Regions from separate parts of the Homo sapiens genome. Here region 1 is linked to region 2. Evidence: promoter capture Hi-C in 16 types of primary human blood cells and fetal thymus (Javierre and others, 2016). All regions are on one chromosome and are shown on one strand. Each heading gives the region's core, a stretch centred on a gene start or on the middle of the fragment in contact. The rest is flanking DNA. Distances are from core to core; before and after follow the strand shown.

Region 1 (5,624 bases), core at 1,986-4,485, 680 kb after region 2:
GCTGACTTAGAAACCAAACTCAGAGTAAACTAAGTATAACTGTAAAGAAATAAGAACTTAAATGAAAACAAGGCCCATGCATAAACTGTTTTCATTGCGCCCCACACCATTCTGCTGAATATTTCTCTCAAAACGCTTTATTTACAATGAGACCAGTGAAGTTCATTAAATGTAAATACAAAACGACTAAAATTACCCTTAATCATTTTAGAAAGTTAAATTCCATTCCACTAGAAAAACAACATCATATTTAGCCAAAAGCACTTAACTATATAAACTATACACAATGCACTTCAACTGACACACTGCCCTCCTGGAGCATTCATTTTTTCACTCTTAAGATATCAATAAAGGAAATAAGCTCAGGCACAATAGCAACAACAGCTGAGGTAAAAAATTCTGGCTTCATTTTATCTCATTATTGCTGACTAGAAAAAAAACTGTAATTGTCGCTTGTGATCCCACACAGCAGAGACGGGACAGGGACCAACTTATTCTTGCAAATGATGTAACCATACAGTTAAAGCCCCAGAGCCCAAGGTGAGGAAATGTAAAATGCTTGCATAGGTCAGTAAAAATGTTTTAAAATAGGGTGGAGAAGAGGTTCTCTCACTCACATTAGAACTGTTTGCAATATATCACTGGTATACCAAGAACGTTAAACATTATTTTACAAAGTTAATGATGAAGTCAAACCCTAACCCCACCATTTTACTGAGTAACCTTAAGCAACTTAATTTCCGAGTCTTAGTTTCCTCGTTTGTAAATCAGTGATTAAAAAATCTACTTCTCAGACGATTTTAAGGTACAATGAGATGACTGGGCACATAGCAGATACTTAACATGTGAGTCTTCAATGATGACTGTTATCATATTTGATGTTTTTGCACGTTATAATTTTACCTCTGGGCAAGAAAATAACTCTTTGATCGGTTATTGGTAAACACAGGTAATTCTGTCCGGTATCTACTAATTTCTCTGCATTATTATTCAAAGAACCACAAAACATCCCTCCCAAAACTTTAAACACAAATAGTTCGAAGCATGGGGCCTATAATTTTGCAAGTTTTATCTATCTGTTCTCTAAAAGGTAAACAAATCAAAACACTACAGGAGCAATGGCAGAAGTGGAATAAGGCAGAATAACTGGATGATGGGTCTCACTGGTGAAATGCCGCAGGCAGGAAGCAAAGAAAAATTCTAATAGATGTATATGGAGTATGAGTTAACCCTCTCTTCTCAGCAGGAAACAGTAACTTCTCCACACTTCCTCCTATAAGATTTGAAACGTTCTGCAAACAATCCATGCTTTAACAGAGCTCGTTTCTGCAGTAAAGCAGCAAAATGGAAAAATCTCCAGGATAAAGACAAAAAAAACATAACTGGAGAAAAAGGTACTACATATTCAAAAAGCACATTTCCTGTGCACATTACCCATGAGATCAACTCAATTGTGTAAAAAGGTATTTCAGGTAATTAAAAAGTAACGGGGCCGGGCACGGGGGGCTCACGTCTGTAATCCCTGCACTTTGGGAGGCCGAGGCAGGTGGATCACCTGAGGTCGGGAGTTCGAGACCAGCCAGGCCACAATGATGAAACCCCGTCTCTACTAAAAATACAAATAATTAGCCGGACATGGTGGCGGGCGCCTGTAATCCCGACTACTCGCGAGGCTGAGACAGGAGAATCGCTTGAACCCGGGAGGTGGAGGTTGCAGTGAGCCGAGATCGCGCCACTGCACTCCAGCCTGGGCGACAAGAGCAAAACTCCGTCTCAAAAAAAAAGAGGAACTGGACACGCTTTATATTTGAAGGTATTAACGATGATACTGACTACTGTATCGCAGTTGTTTCTGGTCAGTATCCAAGAAACCTGTATTTTATTGCAGCAAACACAGGTACAGGGAAAACCCGGTGGTGCCTCAGATCTATGTAGAGCTCATGCTGCTTCTTAACATTCATCCAGGTAAGGCTCTCCTTACTACACATCACAAGTTTTAGATACATTCATCCAGACAAGGCACTCCTCATTAAACATCACTGGATTTACTACTGCTTAAAACCACAGCTCGCCTACCATCAGGAAAGCCAGAAATCATTAACACGTCAAGGCCTGTAAGAAATAAACAGACGCTACAATTTCCGCGAAGGTTCGGAAAAATCAATACACCTTACAAGGCTCTGAAATATTAAAAACAATATACGTAAATCTCCATGGATCTGGGCCCAACGGCCCAAGGTCACAACAATTCAATGGCTAAAAAACCCAAGAAATGAGTCTCCTGCAATTCAGGACAATCCTGGCTAGGAATGGAGTCTGGGTTTGGGACCACTGGGGTCAAACCTTTAATGTGAACAACCCCAACCAAATGCTGCGGCTCCGTGGGAAAACCCCAAGCGTTTCAGGCCACACTTCCTTCCATTTCCCCAGTCTTCCCTTCCCTAGTCACCCCCAACACTCACATCTCCGGAGCCACTTCATCCAATGATAGACGATAGTACTGTGGTGTTTTTTGTTCTCTATACACCAAGACGACAAGCCTTGAATGGACTCCATGGTGTTGGTTACCGACTGGAATTTTCGATCCAACGAGGACTCCAGAGCCCCTGCCGAAGAGGCCGACGAGGAGGAGGCCTTACTGCTGCCTCCGCCGCCGCCGGCCGCCATCTTCCCGGTTTGCACAAGCGCTGCTGCTCCTCTGGCGGCGGCGGCGGCGGCGGCGGCGGGAGCGGGCAAAACAATCACTGCGAGTGCGTGAAAGCCGTAGGTGGGGAGGGAAGCTAGGGGGTGGGGATGGTGCACGCGCTGGGCTCTTCTGGAGGTACGGACGGGAACACCAGCTGCTGGGCACGCTGGCAGCTCCTACACGCTGCAAGGAGGGGCTGCGGGTCTCGGAGGTTTTATCAATATTGTTCAAGGGGTCGTGTTTAAACCAGTCAGTAATCACGGAAAAATTACGCAGAAAACAGGACCTGCAAAGCCTTTCAAAACGCCTGACGCCGAAACTAATCGTTTTATACTTTTCGGCTCTCAGTGCTAAGGCCCTTCCCCGCCCCTGTTCCCACACTCCTGTGAGCCAGGTCGGGCGTTAATATCTTAAATGTAATACTACCCGACTGCCCCTTCAGTTGCAGAAATCTTTCTTTCCTTTAGACTCGCTAGCACAGAAAAGGTCCAAGGCTACCTAGTCAGGATTTTTTTTGCAACGCAATAGCAGCAAAGGGGCAGCAACAGTATCGCGCACGCGCCACTTGGCCCCACCCCCCTACCCCTGCTTCCTTCTCAACCTTGAAAGCAGAGGGAGGCGTGATGGCGGGGCAACCTGACCAATCAGGAGTGGAGAACCACAAGCGCGCGCAGGAGCTCTGAAGCCCCCAGGGCCCAGGAGGCGCTACGATTATTTTTGCGCCTGCGCAGAAGATAAGCGTGTAACGGGATGGAAGGAAAAACTGGGAGGGATGGGTGAGGGAGCTGGTATAACTAAGGTTAGCCGGGTGGGGGGGTTCCCCTGCCCCGCCCTTTGCTGCTTTTGGCCGCTCTCTTGGGTGTGTTCAGCTCACACAACAGAGACAGAAAATTCCCACCACTGAGACCACTGTTAGTCTTCAGGGGGCTGCAGCCATCGCCCCCAACTCCTCGGAGGAGCAACGCGCGACAAAATGGCTGGCAGCCATCTTGCGGCACCACAAAAGATGCGCATGCGCCAGATCCAGTGAGCCATTCACTACGCAGACTCCGACACCAAACCGTATTTATTGCTGCCCATAGAAGATAACATTCACAGCCGCTTGACCATTTAGGTTACAGGAAAAGGAAATAAATGAGGAAGTGAAAGGAAATTTTCCTCATAAAATTTTTCGAGGCGAAAAAAGAATGGCAAGATGTGACCTCATTTTCGCCAGCTATGATACAATCTTAAAATTGCATAATACATTACAGTTTTCAAGAGTCTTACGTAACTATTATATGAACCTTATACGAACCATTTTATCGCAGGTATCTATGTAAATCCTCTGAGCTAATTTAAAGGCTCCTGTGTTCCCACTAAACATATACAGTTTTAATTCTTTTAACGTCTCCTCACTGCGGCCATGCCTCTTGAGGCAGGGAACCTGTTTTGTCAAGTTCATGTCCACTATTCATTAATTCAACGAGTTGTTGAACCTCTTGTGCCAAGTACTGTTTTAGATCATGGGGAGCAAAACAGACAAAAATCCGTTCCCTCCGGGATTTAGTGGCAGGACACCACCAACAAGTACATTTCAGACAGTATTAAATTCTGTAAAAAGGTGAAGCAGGGTAAGGGAGAAAGGGGTGTGTGTGTGTGCGCGCGTGTGTGTACGTGTGCACGGCACGCACGCGCCAGTATAAGAATGGTGGTATGGTGAACCAGGAAGTCTTCTCGAAAGAAATAACTCGATCTGAACATTGAGAAAAAAGCAACCAAGCAGATATGCGAGACGGGGAGCGGAACATGCTGGCATTAGGAACAGCAAGTGCAAAGGCTCTAAAATACAGTCTCGCTCTGTCCCTGCCAAGGCTAGAGTGCAGTGGCACTATCATATCGCACAGCAGCCTCAATCCCCCAGACTCAAGTGGTCCTCCTGCCTCAGCAGCACAAGTAGCTGGGACTACAGGCCTGCACCACCACACCTAGCTAAAAAAACAAAACAACAACAACAACATTTTTTTGAGAGGGGGAGTCTCCCTATGTTGCCCAGGCTGGTCTCAAACTCCTAGCCTCAAGCAGTCCTCCTGCTTTCAGCCTCCCGAAGTGCTGGGATTATAAGCTTGAGCCGCCATGCCTGGTCCTGACCCCACATTTTTTTTTTTTCTGTAACTCTAGCCAAAGACCCACTTTTTTATAGACTATTTTTAGAGCAGTTTTAGATTCACGGCAATTGTGTGGAAAGCACAAGGAATTCCATATACCACCTGCCCCCACACATGAATACCCTCCCCCATTATCAATGTCACGCACCAGAACGATACATCTGTTACAACTGACAAACCTACACTGACACATTATCACCCAAAGCCCATAGTTTACATTAGGGTTCGCTCTTGGTGTTATACCTTGAGTTTGGACAAATGTGCATGTATCCACCATTACAGTATCATACAGAGCAGTATCACTGCTCTAAAAACCTCTGTGTTCCACCTATTCATCCTTCCCTCCCCCTTATTCCCCTAGCGACTACTAATCTTTTTACTGTCTTCATAGTTTTGCCTTTTCCCGAATGTCATATAGGTGAAATCATTCAGTATGTAGCCTTTTCAGACTGGCTTTTTTCACTTAATAATATGCATTTCAGGCGGGGCACGGTGGCTCATGCCTGTAATCCCAGCACTTTGGGAGGCCGAGGTGGGTGGATCACGAGGTCAGGAGTTCGAGACCAGCCTGGCCAACATAGTGAAACCCCCGTCTCTACTAAAAATACAAAAATTAGCCGTGCATGGTGGCGCACGCCTGTAGTCCCAGCTACTCCGGAGGGTGAGGCAGGAGAATCACTTGAACCTGGGAGGCGGAGGTTGCAGTGAGCCAAGATCAGGCCACTGCACTCCAGCCTGGGCAACAGAATGAGATTCCACCTCAAAAAAAAAAAAAATGCATTTCAGTTTCT
Region 2 (5,726 bases), core at 3,143-5,642:
AATCGCCTCCATTTGAGAACCACAACTCTAAAGTCAAGATATTTTTCTCTGAAGTGATTTCTGCTTGGCACGCTACCCTCATCATCTTACTCATCTTAAGCCCGAGCCATGGATCAACTAGGAGCCCATATAAATGAGGCTCAGTAGGGCTGCACATAATCTCCAAACAATTCTTTATTCAGTGTTTTGCTTGTGTTTGCATGTTGCTATGATGGACAGGTCCCCCTCCTCCATTCTTGCCCTCTGGAGAAGTGGTTCCTGCAGTGTAGAGATATGAACAGGGTATGGTAGGATTGGGGAAAGGGGAGAGAGAAGCAGTAGATACACTCCTTATCCTCCCCAAATTTTAAGCTCTATTTCTGTGCCCTAGTCCTAGACACACATTAGACTCAGGGAGTTTTGTCTGAAGACCAGGTCCCACTGCCCCCTGGCTGAAGAGTCTGCTTTAAATGGGAAAACAACGTAGGAGCAGGGGTTTTTAGGCACTTTCAGTATTCTCAGGTGTTCTTCGTTCTGGCCCTTCCAGGGTAATTAGGAAGGCAGAACAAGACAGATGAGCTCCTGCCTGCTCTGAGACAAGAAGGGTGGGGTCTCATTAGCTTTGCAACAGGAAACATCCTGTTTTATGGTAGTGGGGTCAGGAATGTAGGAACTGGTATCCATTCTGCCAATTCCACCACCCATTCAGTTTGCTTATCCCTACAGAACAGTGACTGAGGTTCTTTTTTTTTTTTTTTTTTTTTTTTTTTCAAATTTCCATGTATTTTCTGCCATTTTTCAGGGTCTAAGATTGGTCATACATTCCCAATTTACTCTCAGTTCCAGTCAAGCTGGTTGCTCTGAAAGTAACCCAGCTTGTTGCTCTAAAATACCTCAGTAGCCTGAGTGTTATACTAGAGATCTAAAGGGTTAACAGGATAGGGTGGAAAGGTTAGAGACTCCTAGAAATCTCTGGTCACCGTGATCTTCGGCCTCATTCTAATACCTGTTCTTTGGACAGTCTTTTTCCTTTGGTGCTCTCTTGCCTTTAGCTACCTTCTCTAATATGTATGCTACCATCACTAATAAAGTGATGGGAATGGGTTTGAGAGTCGTAATTTATATTAAAAAGTTGTTGGACTTTTAAATACATTTTTTCAAATAAAAAATTAAGCAAAATAGTTGCACAGTAATCATTGCAGGTGTGTGTTGGATTAAAGGATGGATATAGCTAATGAAGATAACTCCTCGAAAGTGGCTGAGATGGAATTTTGTACCAACATTGCCCTTTTGAGGAGAGAGGGCCAAGCATGAAGGCAAGAAGACCACTGTCATCTTTCAAGGGCTCAACTCCTTGTTCTTCCTACTCCCTTTTCTTAGCGTTTATTTGAGATTTTTCAAGCCTGTAAAAGAAGTACTTGTTTTAAAACAATGTTGGAAATGAGGAAAATGAGCAATATCAACATTTTATCCTGAGGGACAGGGAGTAGAAAACAAGCCAGAGGCTGCTAGTTACATAGTTCAGTCTTAGGGATGAAGGGATTTATGTCTCTCCTCCCTCAGGTACCTCTGTAAAGAAACACAAGACCAAACAATGTGTTTTCCAGTTTTGTTTTTCTGTACTAAAAATATCTAGTGGGTGCTAGGATTGAAAGGGCAAGAGAGGTTGAGATACTGACATCTCCTCATGTGGATGAAGTGGCCATTACCTCTGGTTTCTGTCTATCTGCGTAAGAAAAAAAAATAGAGAAAAAGGGAAATTACAACCACATCTATATTCTTTTCCCTTCCTTGCTTCATCTCCCCCTCCCACAAACCCATATTCCCTCAACCCTACTGCCCACCCCTTACTTATTTTTGTATGCAATAATGGTATTGGACACACAAGGAGAAAAACAGAAACAAGCAAAATGACCAAGTGTAAGCTTTATTACCTTTCCCTCCTCAAAGTCCTATCATCCGTATCAATTGAGACTACCTTATCAAGTCAATCAGAACCTTTGCTAATTCTGGGAAAAGCAGAGGACTATCCTTCCTTGTCCTGGAAGGACAGTACTCCCAAATGGTAGTGGTGAAGAGAGTGGGCACTGGTGTCAAACCTGGTTTAAATCTCGTGGCTCTGCCACTTACTAGCTTTGTAAACCTCAGTTTCTTCATCTGAAAAGCAGGGATAATAATACCTCATAGGATGTGAGGATCGATTCAGGTAAAGTGCACATAGTAAGACCTCAAATTTTGGCACTTGTTGCTGTTAAGCTGTATTAGGTCAAAACTATTAATTGATTAAGATCCTTCATATCTGTTAATTATCTGTGCATCAAAAAGACTTTATGGGCCGGGCACAGTGGCTCATGTCTGTAATCCCAGAATTCTGGAAGGCCAAGGTGGGCAGATCCTTGAGCTCAGGAGTTGGAGACCAGCCTGGGCAACATAGCGAGATCTTGTTAGCCAGGCATGGTGGTGCACGTCTGTAGTCCCAGCTATTCAGCAGGCTAAGGTGGGAGGATTGCTTGAGCCCAGAAGATGGAGGGTGCAGTGAGTTGTGACTGCGCCACCACACTCCAGCCTGAGTGATGAGAGACCCTGTCTCGAAAAAAAAGTCTTATGGTCAGGGGCACAGTAGCTCATGCCTGTAATCCCAGCACTTTGGAAGGCTGAGGCAGGAGAATTGCTTGAGCCCAGGAGTTTAAGACCAGCCTGGGCAACATAGCGAGATCTTGTCTGTGAAAAAAACAGAGAATTTCCAAGACCAGGCATGGTGGCTCATGCCTATAATCCCAGCACTTTGGGAGGCCGAGGCGGGTGGATCACTTGAGGTCAGGAGTTCTAGACCAGCCTGGCCAACATGGTAAAATGCTGTCTCTTCTAAAAAAAAAAAAAAAATTAGCCGGGCATGGTGGTGGGTGCCTGTAATCCCAGCTACTCAAGAGGCTGAGGCAGGAGAATTGTTTGAACCTGGGAGGCAGAGGTTGCAGTGAGCCAGGATCACGCCATTGCACTCCAGCCTCGGCAATAAGAGTGAAACTCTTGTCTTGAAAAAAAAAAATATTTCCAATCTTAACTATTTGGTCAATAATCACCTAATGAGCAGTAAGACATTTTACCTAATGACCAACCAGTAGTTGCTCAATAAATAATAGGTGGAATCAATGGCTAACAATGTGAATAACCAATGCATGTTATGAATCAATAACCAGGTAAGTCAGTAACAGTTCATGTAAGCAACACTGGCTGGCTTAGCAACTGGGTTTTAGATACCAGGACTTTTCAGATCCGTCAACAAAGACCCTGGCTCATCACCAAACACTTACTGGTTGCATCTCTGTGAACACTGAAGAGAGGCTATTCCAAATATCCTCCAGGCCAATCCTGACCCGTTTCCAAAAAGCCAGGGCTGGGCAGGGGCTGGCGGGTGGCAGGCTGGGACTGCTTCTGAGGTGGATGGTGGGGAAGGGGGTAGTGGTGGTCCTGGTACTGGTGGTGCTCTGAGAGGCACAGTTGGTGTCAGTACAGAGACTTGTGTCCAGGGGGCACTCTTCCCGAAGTCGGTTGCAGGGACATTGTTGATAGGTGCAAGGCTTGTGCTCCGTGCGGAGCTGGCTCAGCGCCCCAACTCGAAGGCGCCCGGAAAGGCCGTGCAGCTTCCCAGACCGGCTCCGGCTCATGGTGCCCGACTTGCAGTGGCAGTGCCACGGGCCCCAGGGCATCAGCACCAGCCGCAGATCCTCAGGAGATGGCATGGCTGTGGGTGAGGGTGACGGCCACCGGCTCGGGGTAGACCCAGGTGTGGACCACTGGCTCAGGGTGGCCTGCGAGCCTGGCAGGTCCTCAGTAGACCTCCCGGGGGAGCGCGGCAGGCTTGAAGTCAGCCTGATTTCAGGCTCCTGACTATTGGCTATAAACCTCGTGCTGGAACTCCCCGCTGTATTGGGAGTCGCACTGGGAAGCTCTCTGCTGGTGCTATCCTTTCCGGCATTAATCACAACCCCCTCTTCTGAAGACCCATCCTCCTCGTTAATGGCGGACGACCGGCTAAAGCCGGTGGACACCGTGGCGGCCAAGAGCTCGGCAGCCGCTGGTCCAGCCAGGCGGTCGGCGTCGGCCATGGCATCATTCTCGTCCTCTAGGATTATCCTTGTCTTCCGGGGAAGACCAGTCCGGGCGGTGCTCCGGTAGCTGCGGGTCATGGGGCCCCCAAAGCGTAAACTGACCCGCTGCATTTCGGTCGGAGTCTGGGTCAGGCCTTGGGCCCCCGCCGCCCGGGGACCCAGATTCAGCAGCAGGACCCACAGCAGCGCGCCGGCGGCGGGGACCATGGGGCTGGGCTCTTGGGGTTGGGAGGGTGGCCAGTGAGGCAAGCCCTGCCTCCTACCTTCGCTCCCTCCCTTCCGCTGTAGACCCACCGGGTCGTTTGAACCGAGGCCCGCGGGGAAGGGGGTGGGGTTCGACGCGCAGGCGCGCTCGCGCGGGCCGCGCGGGGTGCTCCTAAGGAACCTCTGCGGCAAGAACTCTGCCAGAACCGAAGGTTTGGGATGCAAGGGGTGGTGAAAGAGTCGTTCACTTCTTTGGAGCAGAGCTTAAATGTCTCATCGCAGTTTATTAGCCTCTACAGTTCTAAATTTACTAAAGAGGGCAAAAATACAGGTTTTGAAAGCACTCCTTCCCAGGCTCACAGGCAGCAGACATGACTTAGAAGGAAAAAGGGCATACAGCGGTTCTTCAAGATTTAATGAGCTGACTCTCCTGGCTCCCAGCAGGCAGGCTGGCTGTCAGGTAAGCCTCTTCCATCCAAGGTGGAAGGATCACAGTCCCTCCAGTTAGACAGGAGGAAAATTAGGACCCAAAAAGATGAAGTTATTTGCCCAAGGTTCTACAGCTAAAGTAGGATTAAAACCCAGAGCTCTGGCCGAGCGCGGTGGCTCACACCTGTAATCTCGGCACTTTGGGAGGCCGAGGCGGGCAGATCACGAGGTCAAGAGATCGAGACCATCCTGGCCAACATGGTGAAACCCCGTCTCTACTAAAAATACAAAACAATTAGCTGGGCGTGGTGGCGTGCGCCGGTAGTCTCAGCTACTCGCTGAGGCTGAGGCAGAAGAATGGCTTGAACCGGGAGGCGGAGGTTGCAGTGAGCCGAGATCGCACCACTGCACTCCAGCCTGGCGACAGAGCGAGACTCCGTCTCAAAAAACAAAAAACAAAAAAACCCAGAGCTCTGCATATCCCATACAAAATGACCCTACATTCAGCCTTCCGTCCCAGCAACTGGAATGAAAGTCACCCAGCAGATCAGTTTCCCAGCCTCAAAGCCCTGCTGAAAGTAGGGTCATGCAAAGGACAAAATCCCACTGAGAAGTGAAGATCCGGTGGTACTGAGGTTGGGGATAAGATGATTTACAAAACAGTTCAGATGTTTCAGGGATTCAGGTGTAGGCAGATCACTAACTGGTTCTAAGGCCTTTTATCCAGTCCTGTGCTATGTCCCTCCTGAGCCATGGAGATCCCGGTCCAGCCTAGGAGAGGGAGAGGGGGAGGAGAGAAGTGGTTCAGGGGGTAGGACTTGGGTTTTATTTTCTGGTTTGGGGAGAGAAGCCAGGTGAATTGGAAGAGCTAGATGATTGGGTTGAGTCATCATTTAGCACTTTTGCTCCCTAACACCCTCTCCCCCACTGGATATCATCTGTTCACTGCCAACACATCTCTTCCTAATTTCTAGGGCCAGTCTGAATCTCCTCTGCACTGTGATT

Evidence for each region. Contacts are between HindIII fragments. The CHiCAGO score rates a contact against its expected background, and 5 or more counts as called.
Region 1: a contact is called between the fragment with the promoter of RPRD2 here and the fragment with the promoter of C1orf56 in region 2, in 1 of 17 cell types (fetal thymus). The highest score is 5.1, in fetal thymus.

What each region holds. Positions count from the first base shown.
Region 1 is chr1:150,361,758-150,367,381 of GRCh38, reverse strand. RPRD2 (regulation of nuclear pre-mRNA domain containing 2) reads right to left here and starts at 3,235. Exons shown (of 11, transcript NM_015203.5): 1 at 2,463-3,235. The coding sequence starts at 2,667. RefSeq lists enhancers at 1,675-1,964, 2,448-2,727, 3,478-3,787, 3,948-4,017, 3,998-4,940. The HindIII fragment of the contact is 10,239 bases long and covers 1-4,792 here.
Region 2 is chr1:151,046,417-151,052,142 of GRCh38, reverse strand. C1orf56 (chromosome 1 open reading frame 56) reads right to left here and starts at 4,392. Exons shown (of 2, transcript NM_017860.5): 1 at 3,291-4,392; 2 at 723-1,705. The coding sequence starts at 4,295. The coding sequence ends at 1,685. BNIPL (BCL2 interacting protein like) reads right to left here. Exons shown (of 10, transcript NM_138278.4): 10 at 4,423-5,492. The coding sequence ends at 5,456. It overlaps CDC42SE1 (CDC42 small effector 1), which reads left to right. Exons shown (of 5, transcript NM_020239.4): 5 at 1-1,158. RefSeq lists enhancers at 3,495-3,734, 4,015-4,064. The HindIII fragment of the contact is 9,026 bases long and covers 1,907-5,726 here.